3 separate regions of the Homo sapiens genome follow, and all the other regions are linked to region 1. Evidence: promoter capture Hi-C in 16 types of primary human blood cells and fetal thymus (Javierre and others, 2016). All regions are on one chromosome and are shown on one strand. The core of a region is centred on a gene start or on the middle of the fragment in contact, and the rest is flanking DNA. Distances in the headings are between cores, read along the strand shown.

Region 1 (2,700 bases), core at 111-2,610:
GGATGGAAACGCCTCCTTTTTACATCCTAGTTATGCTTCTGCTTAACTCCACCTTAAAAAGCATCTGAGATCACATGCAAACAGCCATTCTCATGTAACACAGTACAATCTGCGGGAACATAAAAAGGCCTCCATTTCGACTAAGCTGTGACTGGTAGGGAAATGCCTGACAAGAAAACACAAGCTGTGCTGCCTCAGCCGCCGTGAGATTCCATCAGACCGAGGGCAATCAGCAGGTTTGCCTCTGCGGCCATCCTGGAAGTGCTGAAGAACGAACCCGAGCCCTCTCCGCCGCCCACCCCGCCTGGATAAGCAAACTTCTCAGGCACACCCCCGTTCGTCTTCATTTTTAAGGGCAACCTAGGGAACTGTTCTCTACAACTAATCGTTGCTTCGGCAACCATGGCTTACTTCAAAGCAGCACTTCCTTAAACGCAGCGCTCGCCCACAATTTGCCATTAAGCAAGAGAGCGCGAGCGAACGCCAGGCTCGCCCCGGCCTCCCTTTTCCTCGCTATTCAAATACTCGGTTAACCTTCGCCCTGGTCCCCATGGCTACCGCGCTCCGAGGCGTTTCCGCGGGGGCTGGCGAACCGGGCAGCTCCGCGAAGGAGGGGGGCGCGCGACCGGGGCGTCTGGCCCCATCCCCAGCGCGTCCCCCGAGAGCCGGCGGCCCCGGAGGGTGCACAGCCGGGAAGCGACACACGGCCGAGGGGTGCCGGGATCGGGCCGCCCCCGCCCCAGAGCGCGCGATGACTCACAAATGCAGCAGCTGAAGCCTGAGTCAGCCCGAGCGGCGGGCACGCGCGACGCGCTCCCGCCATGCCGGGGAGGGGGCGAGGCCGGGCCGGGGAGCGCGCGGGGAGGGGGCGGCCGGCGCCCGGGCCCGCGCCCGCCCGCCGTCCGCCCAAACTGCGCCACACGCCGCGGCGGGGTCACGCGGCGGCCGCCGCCATCTTGTGCGGCCGCCATCTCCTGGCCCGCCGCGCCCGCGACTCACCGTTTTCGTCAAATAAAGACATAAACCCAACGCTGCTCGCCCGGGACTGGGATGAAGTGAGGCGCGATATAAACCCGAGTCCGAGTCCGAGGAGGCGGAGGCGAAGCGCAGCGAGGAGCGGCCGGGCCAGGTGCCGCCGCCGAGCAGCGGGGAGGGGCTGTCCCAGCGACGTCCGCGGTCCACACCCGTCAGCGCCGGAGCTGGGCGACCTGGCGCGGAGAGACGGCGCCGTGAGCCGTGGGCGGTCGGGGAGTGCACCTTCCCCGCCAGCCAGCGGCCCGAGGGGTCGAGGGGGCGGGAAGCACCGGGCAGGGGGCCGCCCCTTCACCGGACTCACCTCTGGAATGTTCTCGCTCTGACTGAACAACGCCGCCGCCGCGCTCAAGCTACCCTCGGCCCCAGCGTCCGCCCCCCGCGTCAGGCCTCACTGCCCATTGGCTGGAGGCCTGCCACAGCTCGCTCGTCATTGGTTCGCTTGCGACGTCAATCGCATCTTTCCGCGCCCCTTCTGCTTCCTGAGGCTCAACTCGCGGCCTCGGCCCGCCTCCAGCCCCGGTCTCGCTTCCTTCCTCTCCCCTCCCCCCGCCTTTCCCAGAGGTCTTCGCGGCGCAGCCCTTGGGTCTCGCGAGACCCGGAGTGGCCCTGGTGGCGGGGCCGGGGTACCGGGGGCCGTTCTTTGTCGGTTTGGGCCTTGAGGGGGAGATGGTGGTTGGTCCCCTCCCTCGCCGGGTCTGGGACAGGCCGCGGCGTCATGGCGACTCCCGGGACGCAGGAGCCATCGTCCTCGAAACTGCTTTCGAGGCCGTGTTTTTGCGGCTGCCACCTTCGGGGAGAGGAACCCGACCGCGTTCTCCCCGCAGCGGGCGCTCATCTCCCTTTCCCGTTCTCCCGGGACGCCCGACTCCGGGCCTCGAGGAATGAGTTGTTTTTCCACCTTAAGCCCCAGGCCTGGGTCTTTCATCCCAGGGACGTCTTCTGTTTCGGACTCGGGGTGGATTGGCCGCTGGCGGAACGAGTCCGTGACTCGCCAGTGACCGCCCAGGGCGGTCGCGAGGCCGCGCCGCCTCGGTGTCGGCCCGCAACCCAGCCTGCGCGCTTAGCTCAGCGCGTCGCCTCCCGTTTTCGGAAGAGGAGGCCCTTAATTGGTTTGGAATCCTGGGGCCTCCTGAAGGCGCTTCGTGGTGGGTTCCCACCTTCTGGTGAAGGCCTCCCTGCTCTCCCAGGGTTGAAAAGCGCTATCCTTCGTGCTTCTCTTGTCACCTTTCTCCTAGTGGGCATCACGTCGAGTCCACCCCCTCTAGTTTATGACTTGTGAATTCTTTGATAAGCAAATCGTAGCCCAGAGCAGGCATTTATAATGAGATTCCAATGTATTCCGTTGAAAATTACTATTATTTAGGCCGGTCGCGGTGGCTCACGTCTGTAATCCCAGCACTTTGGGAGGCTGAGGTGGGCGGATCACCTGAGGTCGGGAATTTGAGACCAGCCTGGCCAATATGGTGGAACCCTGTCTCTACTAAAAATACAAAAAATTAGCTGGGCGTGGTGGCTCGCTTGTAATCCCAGCTACTCGGGAGGCTGAGGCAGGAGAATCCTTGAACCCGGGAGGCACAGGTTACAGTGAGCCGAGATCACACCACTGCACTCCAGCCTGGACAACAGAGCGAGACTGTCTCCAAAAAAAAAAAAAAAGAAAATTTT
Region 2 (2,700 bases), core at 100-2,599, 590 kb before region 1:
CTCACGCCTGTAATCCCAGCACTTTGGGAGGCTGAGGTGGGCAGATCACCTGAGGTCAGGAGTTCTAGACTAGCCTGGCCAACATGGTGAAACCCTGTCTCTATTAAAAATACAAAAATTAGCCAGGCGTGGTGGCATATGCCTGTAGCCTCAGCTACTCGGGAGGCTGAGGCAGGAGAATCGCTTGAACCTAGGAGGGGGAGATTGCAGTGAGGCGAGATGGCGCCACTCCACTCCAGCCTGGGTAACAAAGTGAGACTCCATCTCGGGGGGTGGGGGGAGAACTTGGAAGCAACCAAGCTCTCCTTCAGTAGGTGAATGGAGATAAACTGTGGTACATCCAGACAGTGGAATATTAATCAGTGCTAAAAGGAAAGAAGCTATCAAACCATGGAAAGGCATGGAGGAACCCCCAAATGCATACTAATACTAAGTGACAGAAACCCATCAAAAAGGCTACACATACTGTGTGATTCCAACTAGATGACAGTATGGAAAAGCAAAATTATGGAGACAGTAAAAAAATCAGTGGTTTCCACGTGGTGTAGGGAAAGGGAGGCAGGAACAGTGGGGCCGAGAAGATCTGTAGGTCAGTGAACTCTGTAATGCGTGACGTTAGGCGTTTGTCCAAACCCACAGAACGTCCAGTACGAGGCGTGAACCCTCCTGTAACGATGGCCTCCGGGTGACGAAGACGCAGCGATGCAGGTTCGCCGACTGTCACAAATACCCACACCTTACGCAGATGCTCACAGGGGAAACTCTGGGAGGGAAGGGGCCTATGGGACCTCTGCCCTCCGCTCCGTTATCCTGAAAACCTGAGTGCCTCAAAAACTAGTCTGTTAAACATTAAGAACTGAAAAAAAAAAAAAAAAAAAAACCTCTAGCTCAGCTTCCTTACAGGCACCGCTCTGGGCCGCGCGTCGGGTTGTGTAGTGACCACTCGCCCTGGACGGTCAGGGGTCCCTGGAGCCCCGCGAGAGGGCACGGGCTCGCGAGAAGGATCTGGATGGCCCGTGCCCTCGTCGCCAGGCCTCGCCCGGCCGCCCTCCAGCCGCCTCCGCCCCGCCCGCGTCCTACCTTTCGAACGCAGCGGCCGGCCGGGCCGGAGCTTGGGCCAGAGCCGGAGCCTGGGCCGCGGGACCAGCGCCGGGGGCCACGTCCTGGCGCTGCACCTCCTCCCTGGCCGCCCCTGCCGGGAAGGCGGGCGGCGCGCCCAGCAGCTCCACATTGGTCACCGTCTTGCCGATGGTGAACCAGTCGTTGATCTGCTCGATGGTGAGCTTCCGCAGCATCCTCAAGGCCCAGGCGTCGGCATCCCCCAACTGCCGGGTCTCCGCGGCGGGAACAGGCGACGGCGGAAGCGCACCCTGGAAGCCCCGCCCCCGCTCGAGGCCTTCCAATCAGAACGCGCCGCGCGCCCTTGTGGGCGGGCTCCGGCCCGGGCGCGTGCTGCCCGCGCTGCCTGGTCCTCGTGCCGCCGGCCCCGCCCCGCCGCGCTAGGCCTGCCGGGAGCCGCCGCCCCGAGCGAGCCCAGGGTGAGCCTTTCTAGGACCTCAGGGGAAGCTTGAGCGCCGCGGCTGGCCCGGGAGTCTGTTTCACGGGAGTTCCGTGGCAACCCCTGTGTGTACAAGAAAATGCCCTCCGGTCACTCCCTGGCCTCTCTATTTAGAGGCTGCTGCCTCGGAGGTTTGTGCGCTTTGAGCGGACCGGGACCCTACATACGTTTCTTGAGCACCTCAGGGTGAGGAGATGGAAGGCAAACCAGAGAAGGGATTTGCGTTCGTGGGTCAGACGTACCAGGACATCCTTGCACCTAATATGGGGGGAGAGGGGCAAGAAGAAGGTCAGGAAGGTCTCGGAGAAAGTAACGCCAGGCAGACCCCTGCAGGATACGGGGGAATGCGCCAGACGGAGGACCACCCAGGGTTATAGGGGAGGGCAGGCGGCCCTGATGGCTGAGGTGAGGATCTGGGAGAAGTTCTTTGCAGCCGGATCATAACTGAATTCATCTTCCTTCCTAAACCGGTGTCTCAGGCGGCGGTGTCAGACTCACAGCTGGACACAAACAGGTGCGGACAGGAGGTCCAGGCGATCACATGGACCAAAGATACAGGCTGAGGTGGTCCCGGCCGAGCTCTAGAAGAGTGAGGGTGGAGAACAGAGCCCTAGCAAACTCCCCAAAAGAAGGAGCCGCGGGAAGAAATCAACAAAGGATGCACGGGAAGGCAGCCACGTGTGCAAGGGAAGGGAGGGTCAGAAGAGAGACATGGCCACCTGCCTGGGGTGTGTCCCCCTCACTGGCCAGGGCAGGATCTATCTGGCCCATGTGGGCTCTCAGGAAAGAGCCATGTGAACAAATACAGAGACGGTATCGAGAGCATGGCTCTAATCAGCAGTGTAAAGCCCAAGCAGTGGCAAATAAGAGGGCGGTTTGAAAACACTGTAGACAGAAATCAGGCAGGTAGGTTGAGCTATTGGTGTCTCAAAAATTGAACCCATAATCATACTAAGCCAGGAGTTCTGGCTCCAAATCCTGGCATAATGAGCTCTAGACCTCATATTAGGACTCTGCCAAATACGACAGGTTCCCAAAAGTGCCTCAACACACTTTGCCAGGAAGAAATAACTTGCTTTTCTTTTTTCTTTTGAGGCAGGGTCTCACTCCTGTCGCTGAGGCTGGAGTGCCGTGCTGCAATC
Region 3 (2,857 bases), core at 358-2,857, 740 kb after region 1:
CCCGTCTCTACTAAAAACACAAAAATTAGCCAGGCATGGTGGCACGCACCTGTAGTTCCAACTACTTGGGAGGCTGAGGCAGGAGAATCACTTGAACCTGGGAGATGGAGGTTGCAGTGAGTCAAGATTGTGCCATTGCACTCCAGCCTGGGCAACAGATCAAGACTCCGTCTCAAAAAAAAAAAAAAAGGCGGGGGGAGGGGCAGTCACAGTGGTTCACGCCTGTAATCCCAGCACTTTGGAAGGACAAGGCGGGGAGATCACCTGAAGCAAAGAGTTCGAGACCAGCCTGGCCAACATGGTGAAACCGCATCTCTAATAAAAACACAAAAATTAGTTGGGCGTGGTGGTGGGCACCTGTAATCCCAGCTACTCTGGAGGCTGAGGCAGGAGAATCACTTGAACCTCGGAGGTGGAGGTTGCAGTGAGCCAAGATCGTGCCACTGCACTCCAGCCTGGGCAACAGAGTGAGACTTGGTCTCAAAAAATAAAAGAAAAAAGAAAAAAACAAGTAGGAGGAGGAAATAAAAACTAGTAAGGATCAAACTCTCAATTCTTAATTTATTACTCAATTCACTACTCTTAAATTGCAGTCATGGAAAGAACCTGTCTTAAGTCTTAAACAGCTAAGAAAGAATTTTGCTATAAAACAAACATCAGTTGGCTGGGCACGGTGGCTCACCCCTGTAATCCCAGTAATTTGGAAGGCTGAGGTGGGTGGATCACCTGCGTTCAGGAGTTCCAGACCAGCCTGATCAACATGGAGAAACCCTGTCTCTACTATAAATACAAAAAATTAGCCAGGCATGGTGGCGCATGCCTGTAATCCCAGCTACTTAGGAGGATGAGGCAGGAAAATTGCTTGAACCCAGGAGGCAGAGGTTGCGGTGAGCCCAGATCACGCCATTGCACTCCAGCGTGGGCAACAAGAGTGAAACTCCGTATTAAAAAAAAAAAAAATGTTGTATCATTTCTATTCCAAAATGGAAGCCTTCCTTCCCCTTAAGCTTTTAAGTTAAATGAAAAGACACATAAAAAACCACTAGGAAATAGTAAAGTCTCAATTTTCTGCCATATCTAGAAAACTGTGTCCCCCTGCTTAGGTTGGCAAAACAAGGTTTGAAATTACTTTACACCAGTTAGATTCCTTTCCAGATTAAAACAAACACAAAATAAAGAAATTTGGGGCCGGGCGCGGTGGCACATGCCTGTAATCCCAGCACTATGAGAGGCCGAGACGGGCGGATCACGAGGTCAGGAGATCAAGACCATCCTGGCTGACACGGTGAAACCCCGTCTCCACTAAAAATACAAAAAATTAGCCAGGAGTGTTGGTGGGCGCCTGTAGTCCCTGCTACTCTGGAGGCTGAGGCAGGAGAATGGCGTGAACCTGGGAGGCGGAGCTTGCAGTGAGCTGAGATCACACCACTGCGCACTCCAGCCTGAGGGACAGAGCAAGACTCCGTCTCAAAAAAAAAAAAAAGAAATTTGGAAATTTTAATATCAATACTCAACCAATTGGCAGCAAGACTATGCAGCAAAACAGTTAGATGTTTTCCTTTTTATTTCTGAGACAGGGTCTCACTCTGTCACCCAGGCTGGAGTGCAATGGCCAGATCACTGCTCACTGCAGCCTTGACTTCCCAGAGATCCTCCAGCCTCAGACCCCCCCGTAGCTGAAACTACAGGCACATGCCACCATGCCCAGCTAATTTTTTTATTTTTTGTTGAGACAGAGTCTGACTACATTGCCCAGGCTGGTCTCCAACTCCTGAGCTCCAGAGATCCTCCAGCCTTGGCCTCCCCAAGTGTTGGGACTACAGGTGTGAGCTACTGCAATCTGATAAATGTTTTCCATTTTAGAATAGCTGGTCACTAGCAAGTTTATGCTCATATCTATTCCAACAAAAAGCCCAAAGACAGTTCAAAATATTATATTTGCTGTTTCAAAGAAAAGTATAACTCCAAAGAAGTCAAACTCATTACTAACAATGCAGAGCTGATGTCAATATTTCGATGAATGTCAGAAATCTAATTCCTGTTGTTGACAAATATGCCCTTTTCCTTAGTCACATCCAACACATCTACATAAAGTTTTCAAAATTTATGTTAACAAAAATGTATCAAAAAGCCTACCAACTTACTCAAAGATTTGTGGAAGTCGATTTTTAAAAATAATACATTAGGAAAATTTGGTAACAAGCTTTATGTTCTGTGTTTTAAAGCAAAGATAGACTTGACCTACAAAATGAAGACAGGGTCAACTGTAACCAAAAAACAGTATGCTTCCCCTGGTGGCCAACCAAGGAACGGAGGAGCCAAGCATACAAGAGATATAGCCTGGCCACCTAGTTCTATCCTGTCACTCATAAACGAGAAGTGACTACCAAAAAAAAAAAAAAGAATTGGGGAGAAGAGGAAACTATCAAAAACACTAACATGGACTTAAAAGAAACACAAACGCGAGTATTAGACAAATAAATTTAACAGATTTACGTCAACAAATCAAAATTTAGAAGGCCAATTTAGGAAGTCATTTATTTCCAGAGTGTCCAAGAGCTCACCTAGGACCTCTATGTATTTTCACTTCAAAGTGCAGTTTAGTACCTTAATAACAGCTTGAGAGCAATCGCCTTTTTCAAGGACTAGATCATTGCAATTTTCTGCAGTCTTGTTTCCAAGGAAAAAACATGTATGCGTTTATCTTTTCAAATAAACTAGTGGTATAACCCACATACAGAACCCCAGCTCTAAAGCCCTCCAACCATGGAGGATTGTTAACTCCAGCTTTACAAGATGCTCTTTTGAATTTTATTTCTGAAATAAATCCTACGTTCTTTCAAACATTTTCCATACC

What was found. The method cuts DNA at HindIII sites, captures the fragments that hold promoters and counts their contacts. A CHiCAGO score of 5 or more calls a contact.
Region 2: the fragment with the promoter of TDRD9 here is called in contact with the fragment with the promoter of EIF5 in region 1 in 1 of 17 cell types (total CD4 T cells); the score reaches 10.2 in total CD4 T cells.
Region 3: a contact is called between a fragment that was not itself captured here and the fragment with the promoter of EIF5 in region 1, in 2 of 17 cell types (fetal thymus and total CD8 T cells). The highest score is 6.6, in fetal thymus.

Annotation. Positions count from the first base shown.
Region 1 is chr14:103,332,897-103,335,596 of GRCh38, reverse strand. It overlaps EIF5 (eukaryotic translation initiation factor 5), which reads right to left and starts at 1,360. Exons shown (of 12, transcript NM_001969.5): 1 at 1,337-1,360; 2 at 1,000-1,208. EIF5-DT (EIF5 divergent transcript) reads left to right here and starts at 937. Exons shown (of 1, transcript NR_158216.2): 1 at 937-2,700. RefSeq lists silencers at 505-744, 855-904, 1,045-1,464 and an enhancer at 1,785-1,904. The HindIII fragment of the contact is 3,190 bases long and covers 1-2,700 here.
Region 2 is chr14:103,927,105-103,929,804 of GRCh38, reverse strand. It overlaps TDRD9 (tudor domain containing 9), which reads right to left and starts at 1,349. Exons shown (of 36, transcript NM_153046.3): 1 at 1,081-1,349. The coding sequence starts at 1,295. The HindIII fragment of the contact is 2,314 bases long and covers 1-1,568 here.
Region 3 is chr14:102,594,208-102,597,064 of GRCh38, reverse strand. The region is part of intron 2 of RCOR1 (REST corepressor 1); the gene reads right to left. Among named protein-coding and RNA genes, the nearest start is that of RCOR1, 3.0 kb to the right of the region's middle. The HindIII fragment of the contact is 1,196 bases long and covers 1,010-2,205 here.